Linked DNA regions of Homo sapiens: region 2 is linked to region 1. Evidence: promoter capture Hi-C in human tissues and cell types (Jung and others, 2019). All regions are on one chromosome and are shown on one strand. The core of a region is centred on a gene start or on the middle of the fragment in contact, and the rest is flanking DNA. Distances in the headings are between cores, read along the strand shown. Region 1 holds the start of DNAJB7 (DnaJ heat shock protein family (Hsp40) member B7). Region 2 has its middle 23 kb from the start of MCHR1.

Region 1 (6,058 bases), core at 3,559-6,058:
TTAACTGATTCCTTTTTCAATGCTCATATGAAATAATCCTAGCATATTTTGGACCACTCTCAAGCAGAGGGAGCTTAACTTTATTAAATTCAAAGCAAACAAGTAACACTTTAACAGGAGACATAAATTAAGATGTTTATTCCCAGTAAATTTTTAAAAAAGGTCTCAATAGCTTTTTACTTACATTAAACATCTTTTGCCCGAAGTCATATAATTAGTAGCAAAGCTGGTGTGTTAAGTCCTATTTCAAAAATATCCAGTTCATAAGCTTCAAACTCTTTTGCTTAGGAAACTTCATGATTTGGATCCTGCTCCCTTATCTGACCTAATCCTCAAAAAACATTATTGCAGCCACACTAAGCTACTTGAAGAACCCCGGCTAAATCATTCTGCATCATAATAGCATTTGCATTAAAAAATATAGTTCTCTTAGTCTAAAGTGGACACTGCCTGCTTATACGATTACAGAAATTCTAAAAAATACCAGCTCAAACATCACTTACGCAAGAGACTTCTCTTACTCTTCTCACACCTACTGCCTCTGTTCTGCTTGTTTCAGATGTCTTCCCCAACGCTCCTATGATTTCTATTTTAATACCTACTACACTTCACATAATTGCTAATTAGTTTGCCAGTCTACTATGAACAATCTTTGGAAGCAGAGATCACTTGTTATTTGACTTTATTTTCCCAGTGACTTGATTTGAAATGTATTTTGAAGTTAAAAGTCAATGAGTCTGGCTTCTAATTGGACATAAGAAATAAAGAAAAAAGAGGAATTAAGAATAATTCTTGATTTTTGACTTGAACAAGTGAATAAATGGTTGTACCACTACATGCAACAGGAAAGCCTGAGATATTTATTGGAAATAAATTTAATGGAGAGGTCAAAGAGCAATCTTAATTTCAGGGAGAAAAGTGCTAGGCTAGATATATAAATTAGGGTGTTATAAGCACACAGATGGCATCTAAAGCCCTGGGAATGGGTATTACCCAGGGAGACTGAACAAAGCCTGGCACTGTAATATTTTAGTGTGAGAAAGAGCACAGGAGAAAGAAGGAAAACTAGAAGAGTACAGTATTTAGTGCTGGGCATGGTGGCTCATGCTTGTAATCCCAGCACTTTGGGAGGCCGAGGCAGGCAGACAGATCACTTGAGGCCAGGAGTTCGGGACCAGCCTGGCCAACATGGCTAAACCCTGTCTCTACCCGCTGCCCCCCCGCCCCCCACAAAAAAAGAGTGTGGTATTTAGGAAGTTAAAAAACAAGTGTTTTAAGAAGTGGGGAGGACTATGCCAGGCGCAGTGGCTCACACCTGTAATCCCAGCACTTTGGGAGGCCGAGGCAAGTGGATCACCTGAGGTCGGGAGTTCGAGACCAGCCTGACCAACATGGAGAAACCCTGTCTCTACTAAAAATACAAAATTAGCCAGGCATGGTGGCACATGCCTGTAATCCCAGCTACTCGGGAGGCTGAAGCAGGAGAATGGCTTGAACCTGGGAAGTAGAGGTTGCAGTGAGCCGAGATCACACCACTGTACTCTAGCCTGGGCAACGAGAGTGAAACTCCATCTCAAAAAAAAAAAAAAAAAAAAGTGAGGAGGGCTCACAGTGTGGCAAGTGCTTCAAAATACAAGGAAGCCAAAAGGACAACCACTGGATATGGTAACATCAATCACTGGAGACCCTGGCGATTTTAGCAGAGTAAAGAAGACAGAAGACAGATTGGAGTATGCCAAGGAGGGAATAGGATGTAAGAAAGCAAAGACACTGAGACAATACTCTGGATAAGTTTTGTTGTGAAGAGGCAGAGAAAATGGCACAGCGGATGGCTGGGAGGCAAAGGATCAACAAAGAAGGGTATAACTGCAGAAACAAGTGCTCGTATTATAACTTTACACTCCACTGAAATTAGTTTTTTCAAACTATATGAATTTCTTAAGAGCAGAATTTCCTATTTTCTACCTTTTCTCTGTATCATAGTGTCAGAGGCGTTTGAACCAGAGCAACTCCATCTTCAGTAGGGGTTTGGTAAAATAAGGCTAAGACCTACTGGGCTACATTCCCAGTAAGTTAAGGCAGTCTTAATCACAGAATGAAATAGGAAGTCAGCACAAAATGCAGGACACAAAAACCCTGCTAATAAAACAGGTAGGTTATAGTAAAGAAGCTGACCAGCTGGGTGCGGTGGCTCATGCCTGTAATCCCAGCGCTTTGGGAGGCTGAGGCGGGCAGATCACCTGAGGTTGGGAGTTCGAGATCAGCCTGACCAACATGGAGAAACCCCCTCTCTACTAAAAATACAAAATTAGCCGGGCGTGGTGGTGCATGCCTGTAATCCCAGCTACTCAGCGGGCTGAGGCAGGAGAATGGCTTGAACCCGGGAGGTAGATGTTGCAGTGAGCCAAGACCCCACCATTGCACTCCAGCCTGGGCAATAAGAGCGAAACTCCACCTCAAATAATAATAATAGTAACAATAATAATGAAAATAAAATAAGTCCCTGTCAAATTTAGACACTGCGAACATCTTCTCCTAGACTGTCACCTTCCTGTGAGCTTTACCTGTGATGTTCTTAAAAAAAGGAGCTGGCCAAACCCCACTAAAACTAAGATGGCAATGACAGTAACCTCTGATTGTCCTCACTGCTACACTCCCACCAGCACCCCAAGAGTTTACAGATGCCATGGCAACGTCAGGAAGTTACCCTATATGGTCTGAAATGGGGAAGCATGAATAATCCACTTCCTGTTTAGGATATAATCAAGAAATAACCATAAAAATGGGCAACCAGCAGCCCTTGGGGCTGCTCTGCCTATGGAGTAGCCATTCTTTATTCCTTTACTTTCTTAATAAACTTGCTTTTACTTTACTCTGTGGATTCCACTGAAATTCTTTCTTGCACGAGATCCAAGAACCATCTCTTGGGGTCTGGATTGGGACCCCTTTCCGGTAACAGCAGGTTCTCAGTATCTGTTTGTGGAATGCCTAGAACCTAAACTCTTTAAGTCCTAGTCCGAGAAATGCAGTAGAGTGGAATGAGAACTTGAAATTAGACTCAAGTTTAAAAATCAGATTTTTCACTAACAAGCTATGTAGCCTTAGACAAATTACTTTCTCTCTCAGAACGTCTGTTTTCTTATGGGCATAAAATATTTATTTTGCTAGAGTGCTGTGTCAGTTAAATGAGCACTTGCTACAGTGTGACTCAGAGGGTACTCAAATAATTTTCGACATTATTGGTTATTATTTCCAGTGGTAGGCAAATTATAATCATGGGTAAGCCACACATAAGTACATGTAAGCACATACACTGGAGAGAATTTAAATTGAGTTTTAAGCATTTCACAATACCTCTAAAAAATGAGTATATATAAAAATGCAAAGCAAAAAAATATTCAGACCTGACAAATGGTCTTGAAAGACTAGAAGCATACACTACAGTTTTAGATTTCATTAGCGTATCATTTAACTGAGGGGTTATAAATGTGATGGAAAATAAAATAAACACAACATAGAGGAGGAAAAACAAAGATTACAGGGAATTTTCTCAGACAATAAAATGAGCCAGGTATAGAATATAAGACCTTTAAATTCGGGTCTAGACTACTGGTAGTTTATCCCCAAAGAAAATCACCTTTGGTCTGTTTCTAATTTGGCTCTCGAATTCTACTTTCCCATACATGACTGAATTTCCAAATAGTAGCCACTGATCCATTACAAATGTAAATCACATCATTAAACTTGCATATTCCCCACTCCCCACAAAGGCTTCCCACTGTACTTGAAATAAGTGCTAGCTTTATGTCCAACAGCCCCAACTGGCAACAACCAAAATGTCCATCAACATGGCCAGTGGCTACCATATTAGATCACTATGTGGCTGACTGTCATATAGGTCTCAGCAATAATGTCATCTCCTCAGAAGCCTTCTAAAACCAATCTAAAGTAGCGCTCTGCCCCCAGCACATTGCTATTTTTTTTGGAGCACATATCGCATTATCTTAAATTATTTTATTTGTTCTCCTATTTGTATTCTATTATAATGCAAGCACCAGGAAAACTGGTGTCTTTTGTTCAATACTGCTATCACCAGTGGCTAAAACGGTGCCTGGCACAAAGTAGACAATCAATAATTATACAGTGAATACATAAACACACAACTTTCCAAATCTTTAATTACATGTTTTACAGCAGTAAACCTTGGGTGGACAAAGATACTATAATCTCAAATGACTTACCACTGGCATGCAGAAAGTTAACATATCAGGCTACTTCCTCCAAGAGGCTTTCATTGACACCCCCAGCCTGAGCTGTCTCTCATATAATTGTTTAGCATCCAGTACTTCCTCTCATCATAACTATTATATTGTAACTAAGTTACTTGTTTGTATCTCCCTCTGAACTGTTTCTTGACTGAAATAAATATGTCAACTGTTTGAATACTTTCTTCACCCGTAAGTCAGTACTTCATTTTTCTAAACCAAAGCATAGAAGAGCTGGGAAGCAATTAAGGCGCAGTAATCTAGAGGTCATATTATGCAAGGGATATGCTGTGGCTATTAGCAACAGATTCCATTGGCTTATGAGGCACTGCCTGAAGCTTCCAGGGAAACATACAGGGGAAACAGTCCAGAGGATTCAGGATGGTCTGGTACGACTCTGGACTAGCTCTATTTGGAAGGTCCAGTCCCTACACTGACCCCAGAATGACACCATAATGCAGCCCTCTCTGACATATTTGTAACTCTGCTTGCCACATAATCAGTATCCTCATCTCTTAGCACATGGTAATAACATTGTCTTTAACATAAAAGTGTACCTATTTGCAGTCACTACCTCTATCACCACCACCAGCAGAGCCTGAGCTGAGGAAACCACGGTTCTCAATACCCAGCACACCCACTTCCAACTATCTGTTAAAACATGGTGGATTACTATGAAGTTCTAGGACTGCAAAGATATGCTTCACCTGAGGACATTAAAAAAGCTTATCATAAAGTGGCACTTAAATGGCACCCTGATAAAAATCCAGAAAATAAAGAAGAAGCAGAGAGAAAATTCAAAGAAGTAGCTGAGGCATACGAGGTATTATCAAATGATGAGAAACGGGACATTTATGATAAATATGGCACAGAAGGATTAAACGGAGGTGGAAGTCATTTTGATGATGAATGTGAGTACGGCTTCACATTCCATAAGCCAGATGATGTTTTTAAAGAAATTTTTCATGAAAGGGATCCATTTTCTTTTCACTTCTTTGAAGACTCGCTTGAGGACCTGTTAAATCGTCCAGGAAGCTCCTATGGAAACAGAAACAGAGATGCAGGATACTTTTTCTCCACTGCCAGTGAATATCCAATTTTTGAGAAATTTTCTTCATATGATACAGGATATACATCACAGGGTTCATTGGGGCATGAAGGCCTTACTTCTTTCTCTTCCCTGGCTTTTGATAATAGTGGGATGGACAACTACATATCTGTTACAACTTCAGACAAAATCGTTAATGGCAGAAATATTAATACAAAGAAAATTATTGAAAGTGATCAAGAAAGAGAAGCTGAAGATAATGGAGAGTTGACATTTTTTCTTGTAAATAGTGTGGCCAATGAAGAGGGCTTTGCAAAAGAATGCAGCTGGAGAACACAGTCATTCAACAACTATTCACCAAATTCTCACAGCTCCAAACATGTATCTCAATATACTTTCGTGGACAATGATGAGGGAGGTATATCTTGGGTTACCAGCAACAGAGATCCCCCTATTTTCTCAGCAGGAGTCAAAGAGGGTGGTAAGAGGAAAAAAAAGAAGCGTAAAGAGGTGCAAAAGAAGTCTACCAAAAGGAATTGTTAAATTGACTCTTCAAATATATAACATTTGAACACAATTGTGTGTGTTTTGGTTAATCACAAATTTTGTAGATAACACTTAATACTATACTAAGAGCTTTTCAACACTTTTAGCAGGATTGTGGACATTTGGTTAGTAGTTTTTTTGAATGGGTATGTCAGAAAAGGATGAGTTTGTGGTGACAGTTGGTGCTAATAAGAATTTG
Region 2 (5,424 bases), core at 1,455-3,954, 160 kb after region 1:
AGTGGTATGATCTCAACTCACTGCAACCTCCACATCTCAGGTTCAAGTGGTTCTCCAGCCTCAGCCTCCCAAGTAGCTGGGTCTACAGGCACAAGTCACCAATGCCTAGCTAATTTTTGTATTTTTGTGGAGATAGGGTTTCACCTTGTTGGCCAGGCTGGTCTCAAACTCCTGAGCTCAAAGCAATCCGCTTGCCTCAGCCTCCCAAGGTGCTGGCATTCCAGGTATGAGCCACTGCTCCCGGCCTAGAAATGGGGAATTTTAGAGAGTAAGTTAGTGTGGATGGTAAGTGGTAGAAAGATAATGGAAAATGGTTTCACTTTATTGAGTCTGGGATGATAGAATTGTCATGTGAACAGATGGAAATATTCGAACCAGGGGGTCAGAAAGGGAGATAAGGATTTGAGAGGCATCAGTAAAGAGGTGGCTCATGCCTGTAATCTCGGCACTTTGGGAGGCCAAGGCGGGAGGAACACTTGAGGCCAGGAGTTCGAGACCAGGCTGGCCAATTTGGTGAAACCCTTTCTCTACTAAAAAAATATATATATATCTATATATATAGATATATATATCTACTAAAAATATATATATATAAACATATATATCTCTACTAAAAAAAAAAATATATATATATATATATATATATATATATATATGAAAATTAGCTGGGTGTAGTGGTACGTGCCTGTGGTCCCAGCTACTTGGGAGGCTGAAGCAGGACAATTGCTTGAACCAGGGAGGTGGAGGTTGCGGTGAGCCAAGATTGTGGCACTGCACTCCAGCCTGGGCAACAGAGTGAGACTCTGTCTCAATAAATAAATAAAGTAGAGAGTGGTCGACTGAGTGGTCAAGGAGATGGAGACAGCAGGGGACTGGTCACATTTAGGAGTGCTTTACCGAAAAGATGGATGGCATTTAAGATTCCCTTCCCCGTTTCCTTCAGAAGATTTTTCTTAATTTCTGGTTTCTTGCTCTTTACTCCATTTCCCAAGGAAGGAAGGAAAGAGAGTTGGGGAGGCCACCAGAAATGTATAAGCTCTGGCAAAGCTCTTATTGGCTGGCGGCCAGGCTGAGGCGGGGCAGCCACTCTCCAGGCTTGGGTGGGCCTGCTGTGCCAGCCAGCTGGTCTCAGATGGTTAGTGCAGGGAGGGTGGGCTGACCCGAGGGGACACCATGCAAGGCAGAGGTGCCAGGCAGCATGTGCCCAAAGTCCATTTGTCTGGCAAGTAAGAGCTTTGTCCAGGGTTGGTAATGTTGCCGGCATTTAGCTTTTGGGCCTTTTTTTCTGGAGAGACTAGGATAGAGAGACAGCAGAACTGCCATGAACCAAACTCTCTCGTTTTTCCCTTTTGCAATGAATTGGTTTGTCTCCAGGCTGCTGTTACAACCACGTAATTGCAACCAGGTTACTTTCTTTCTTCTTATTTTTTTTTCAACCTCTAAATCTACTTTAAACTTTCTTTGTTTCTAATAGAGATGGGGTCTTCCTATGTTGTCCAGGCTGGTCTCAAACTCCTGGGCTCAAGTGATCCTCCTGCCTTGGCCTCACAAAGTGTTGGCATTACAGGCATGAGCCACTTCAACAAGCCCAGATTACTTTCTTGTCACATGTTGCAAAACAGACCCCAGGAGGATCTGAGAACACAGAATGTATCAAGCTGAGACACAGACAAGGACACAGTGGGGATACCCATGTGACTGATCCTAGCCAATAAGTGTGTTCCACTTCTCTGGTTTTCATGCTTGATTGGGTGGAAGTGGGAAGATATGTAACTCATACAGGACCAATCAGAGGCTTATTCAGGGTTTGAAACAGACACTGGGGAGAAAGGTGGCAAGGAGTACCGGGTAGCAGGAAAGAAGATATGCTAATTCCTGGAGCTGCTGCCAGTAGGAACAAGGCAAGTTTACATGCCTGCTGGGCACCATCTTTGCTACCACTTGGGAGAACATCCCCTATGAGAAGGAAGCCAAAAGAGAGGAAAACTGAGCCAGACAGTGAGGAGAGATAAATCGTGAGGAAGAGGGTGGGCGCGGTGGCTCACGCCTGTAATCCCAGCATTTTGGGAGGCTGAGGTGGGTGGATCACAGGTCAGGAGTTCAAGACCAGCCTGGCCAAGATGGTGAAACCCTGTCTCTACTAAAAATACAAAAAAAAAAAAAAAAAAAATTAGCTGGGCGTGGTGGCGAGGGCCTGTAATCCCAGCTACTCGGGAGGCTGGGGCAGAGAACTGCTTGAACCTGGGAGGCAGAGGTTGCAGTGAGCTGAGATTGCACCACTGCACTCCAGCCTGGATGACAGAGCGAGACTCCATCTCAAAAAATAAATAAATAAAATAAAATAAAATGTGAGGAAGAGAGAAAGGGAATGTCTGTCCCGATGGCCTTGAGCCCTTGGATCCAGTCATGACTTAAAGCCAGATCTAGTCCTCAACGTTTCCCTTTAATAAGCCAATACATTCCCCCTTTTTGCTCAAATCAGAGTTAAATTTCTAACATTTACAACAACAACAAAAAAAGCTCTCACAAATCATCTTAGTCAGCTCAGGCTGATATAATAAAATACCGGGCGGCTTAAACAACAGGCATTTATTTCTCCTGATTCTGGAGGCTGGGAAGTCCCAGATCAAAGTGCCAGCCAATTGCATTCCTGCTGAGGATTCTCTTCCTGGCCAGACTTGGCCGGGTGTGGTGGTTCATGCCTGTAATCCCAGCACTTTGGGAGGCCGAGGTGGGCGGATCACCTGAGGTCAGGAGTTCAAGACCAGCCTGGCCAACATGGTGAAACCCCATCTCTACTAAAAATACAAAATTTAGCTGGGCTTGGTTGTGGGCACCTGTAATCCTAGCTACTCAGGTGGCCGAGGCAGGAGAATCGCTTGAACCCGGGAGGTGGAGGTTGCAGTGAGCCGAGATTGCGCCATTGCCCTCCAGCCTGGGCGAAAGAGGGAGATTCTGTCTCAAAAAAAAAAAGAAAGGTTACTTCAGAAAGTATAGTGAGCTGAAATTGTGCCACTGCACTCCAGCCTGGGTGACAGAGTGAGACTCCATCTCAAAAATAAATAAATAAATAAAAGACTCTTTCTGGCTTGCAGACATCAGTCTTCTGTATCCTCACAGAAGTGTGCAGGTGGAGAGAGGCAGAGGGGAAGCAAGCTTTCTGATGTCTCTTCTTATAAGGGCCACACCCTCAAGACTTCCTCTAAACCGGATCGCTTCCCAAAGACTCCATCTCCAGATACTAACACATTTGGGGGTTAGGGCTTTGTTTTGCAGCAGAGTGAGAGATCACCTCCAACCTCATGTGCCTCTTATGTGGGCTCTCAGCTATATCTAGAGACCAAATTGACACAAGGCAGAGTAGCAAGATAAAAGCATATAAGCTTTATTAGTTTTCCATGTACACAGGGATCTTCACAAGAGTGAAGTCTGAAGAAGTGGCCAAAGTAAGATGCATTTATACTTTTTCGACAAAGAACAATACATTTGAGAAGAAATAACAGGGCAAAAGGGATCTGGTTACGGGCAGTAAATTTCTAAGGGAGTCACCGGGAGATGTATGGGAGGGTATACAACCAGCAGAATAGAAAGGTCATTTCGGGCGCCAGGTGCAGTGGCTCATACCTGTAATCCCAGCACTCTGGCAGGCCGAGGCAGGCGGATCATCTGAGGTCAGGAGTTTGAGACCAGCCTGGCCAAAATGGTGAAACCCCATCTCTACTAAAAGTACAAAAATTAGCCAGGCCTGTTGGTGCATGCCTGTAATCCCAGCTACGCGGGAGGCTGAGGCAGGAGAATCTCTTAAACCCGGGAGGCAGAGGTTGCAGTGAGCCGAGATTGTGCCATTGCACTCCAGCCTGGGTGAGACAGATTCTGTCTCAAAAAAAAAAAAAAAGGAAAAGAAAATAAAGGTTACTTCATGAAGTATAGTTGTTCAGGTCCACTGCACTGCAGCCCCCAACTTCCAGTCTCTGGTGATAAGGGATATTTTCACCCCCCTGATAAGGGGAGTGTACCCCTCCCAGAGGAATCCTTATGGCTTGCTGCATGCAGGAAGAGACAGGTCAGCTCACCCTTTCTGAAACCACATTTTCTCCAAAGTTTTCTTTTTTTTTCTTTTTTTTTTTTTCTTGAGACAGTCTCACTCTGTTGCCCAGGCTGGAGTGCAGTGGCATGATCTTGGCTCACTGCAACCTCCGCCTGCTGGGTTCAAGTGGTTCTCCTGCCTCAGCCTCCAGAATAGCTGGGATTACAGGTGCATGCCACCATGCCCAGCTAATTTTTGTATTTTTTAGTAGAGACGGGGTTTCACCATGTTGGCCAGGCTGGTCTCCAACTCCTGAGCTCAGGTGATCCACCTGCCTTGGCCTCCCAAAGTGCTGGGATTACAGGTGTCTTTTTTTGTTGTTGTTAATATAGAGAAAGGGTTTCACTTTGTTGCCCAGGCTGGCCTCGAACTCCTGAGCTCAAGTGATCCTCCTGCCTTTGTCTCCCAAAGCGCTGGGATTACAGGCACTCACGCCTGGCCCCTCCAATGTTTTCAACGAAATAATCAACATACCAATTTGGCATATTTTGGGATGGCACATACTTCACTCCTTCAGCTTCAACCTAGGAATTTTTAGAGGACACAATTCAGTCCACAGCACCAATACACCGACCTGATCCTAAAAATGTTTATAACTTTCTTAACACTTAGGGCATCCTCATTTCAAGTAACAGAAAACACACTTCAAATAGCTTTTAAAATAAATTAGACAGGGGTGGTGGTATATGCTTGTAGTCCCAGCTACTTGGGAGGCTGAGGTGATTGGTTAAAGCCAGTGAGGGCCCATCCCTGGAGCTGGGATGAAGTCAGTACTTTCTAAACCACAAGGTTGGAAGTTCAGGATATTGTCAGGAATGGGTTATGGAGTCTAGGAAGACAAAACTGAATGTCCACTATACCATTTGATTAGATTTAATTCCACTGCTAAGAGTTTATCTAATGGAATAATTAGAGGAAGAATAAGAGGCAAGTTTATTGCACCCCAGCCAAAGTAGTATATTTACCACTTCTGTGTAAGTTAGGGGTTGCCTTTGACTGGCAATTAACAGAAAAGTTGCTTAAACAAATACAGATTTATTTTTCTTGCACAACAGGAAGTCTAGAAGATGGTGTTTGTTCCACAAATCAGTGATGCCTTGGGTACCCTGTTCTTTTTTTTTTTTTTTTTTTTTTTGAGACAGAGTCTTGCTGCGTCGCCCAGGCTAGAGTGCAGTAGTGTGATCTTGGCTCACTGCAACCTCCATCTCCCGGTTCAAGCAATTTTCCTTGCCTCAGTCTCCCGAGTAGCTGGGATTACAGGCGCCTACCACCACACCCGGCTAATTTTTGAATTTTTTAGGAGAGACAGGGTTTCCCCATGTTGGCCAGGCTGGTCT

What was found. Contacts are between HindIII fragments. The study calls those that stand out against the background at their distance.
Region 2: a contact is called between a fragment that was not itself captured here and the fragment with the promoter of DNAJB7 in region 1, in 1 of the 25 tissues and cell types used here (small bowel).

What each region holds. Positions count from the first base shown.
Region 1 is chr22:40,860,863-40,866,920 of GRCh38, reverse strand. DNAJB7 (DnaJ heat shock protein family (Hsp40) member B7) reads left to right here and starts at 4,808. Exons shown (of 1, transcript NM_145174.2): 1 at 4,808-6,058. The coding sequence starts at 4,927. The coding sequence ends at 5,856. All of the region lies in intron 1 of XPNPEP3 (X-prolyl aminopeptidase 3), which reads right to left. The HindIII fragment of the contact is 4,259 bases long and covers 2,437-6,058 here.
Region 2 is chr22:40,699,613-40,705,036 of GRCh38, reverse strand. No RefSeq gene overlaps it. Among named protein-coding and RNA genes, the nearest start is that of MCHR1, 23 kb to the right of the region's middle. The HindIII fragment of the contact is 6,289 bases long and covers 1-5,424 here.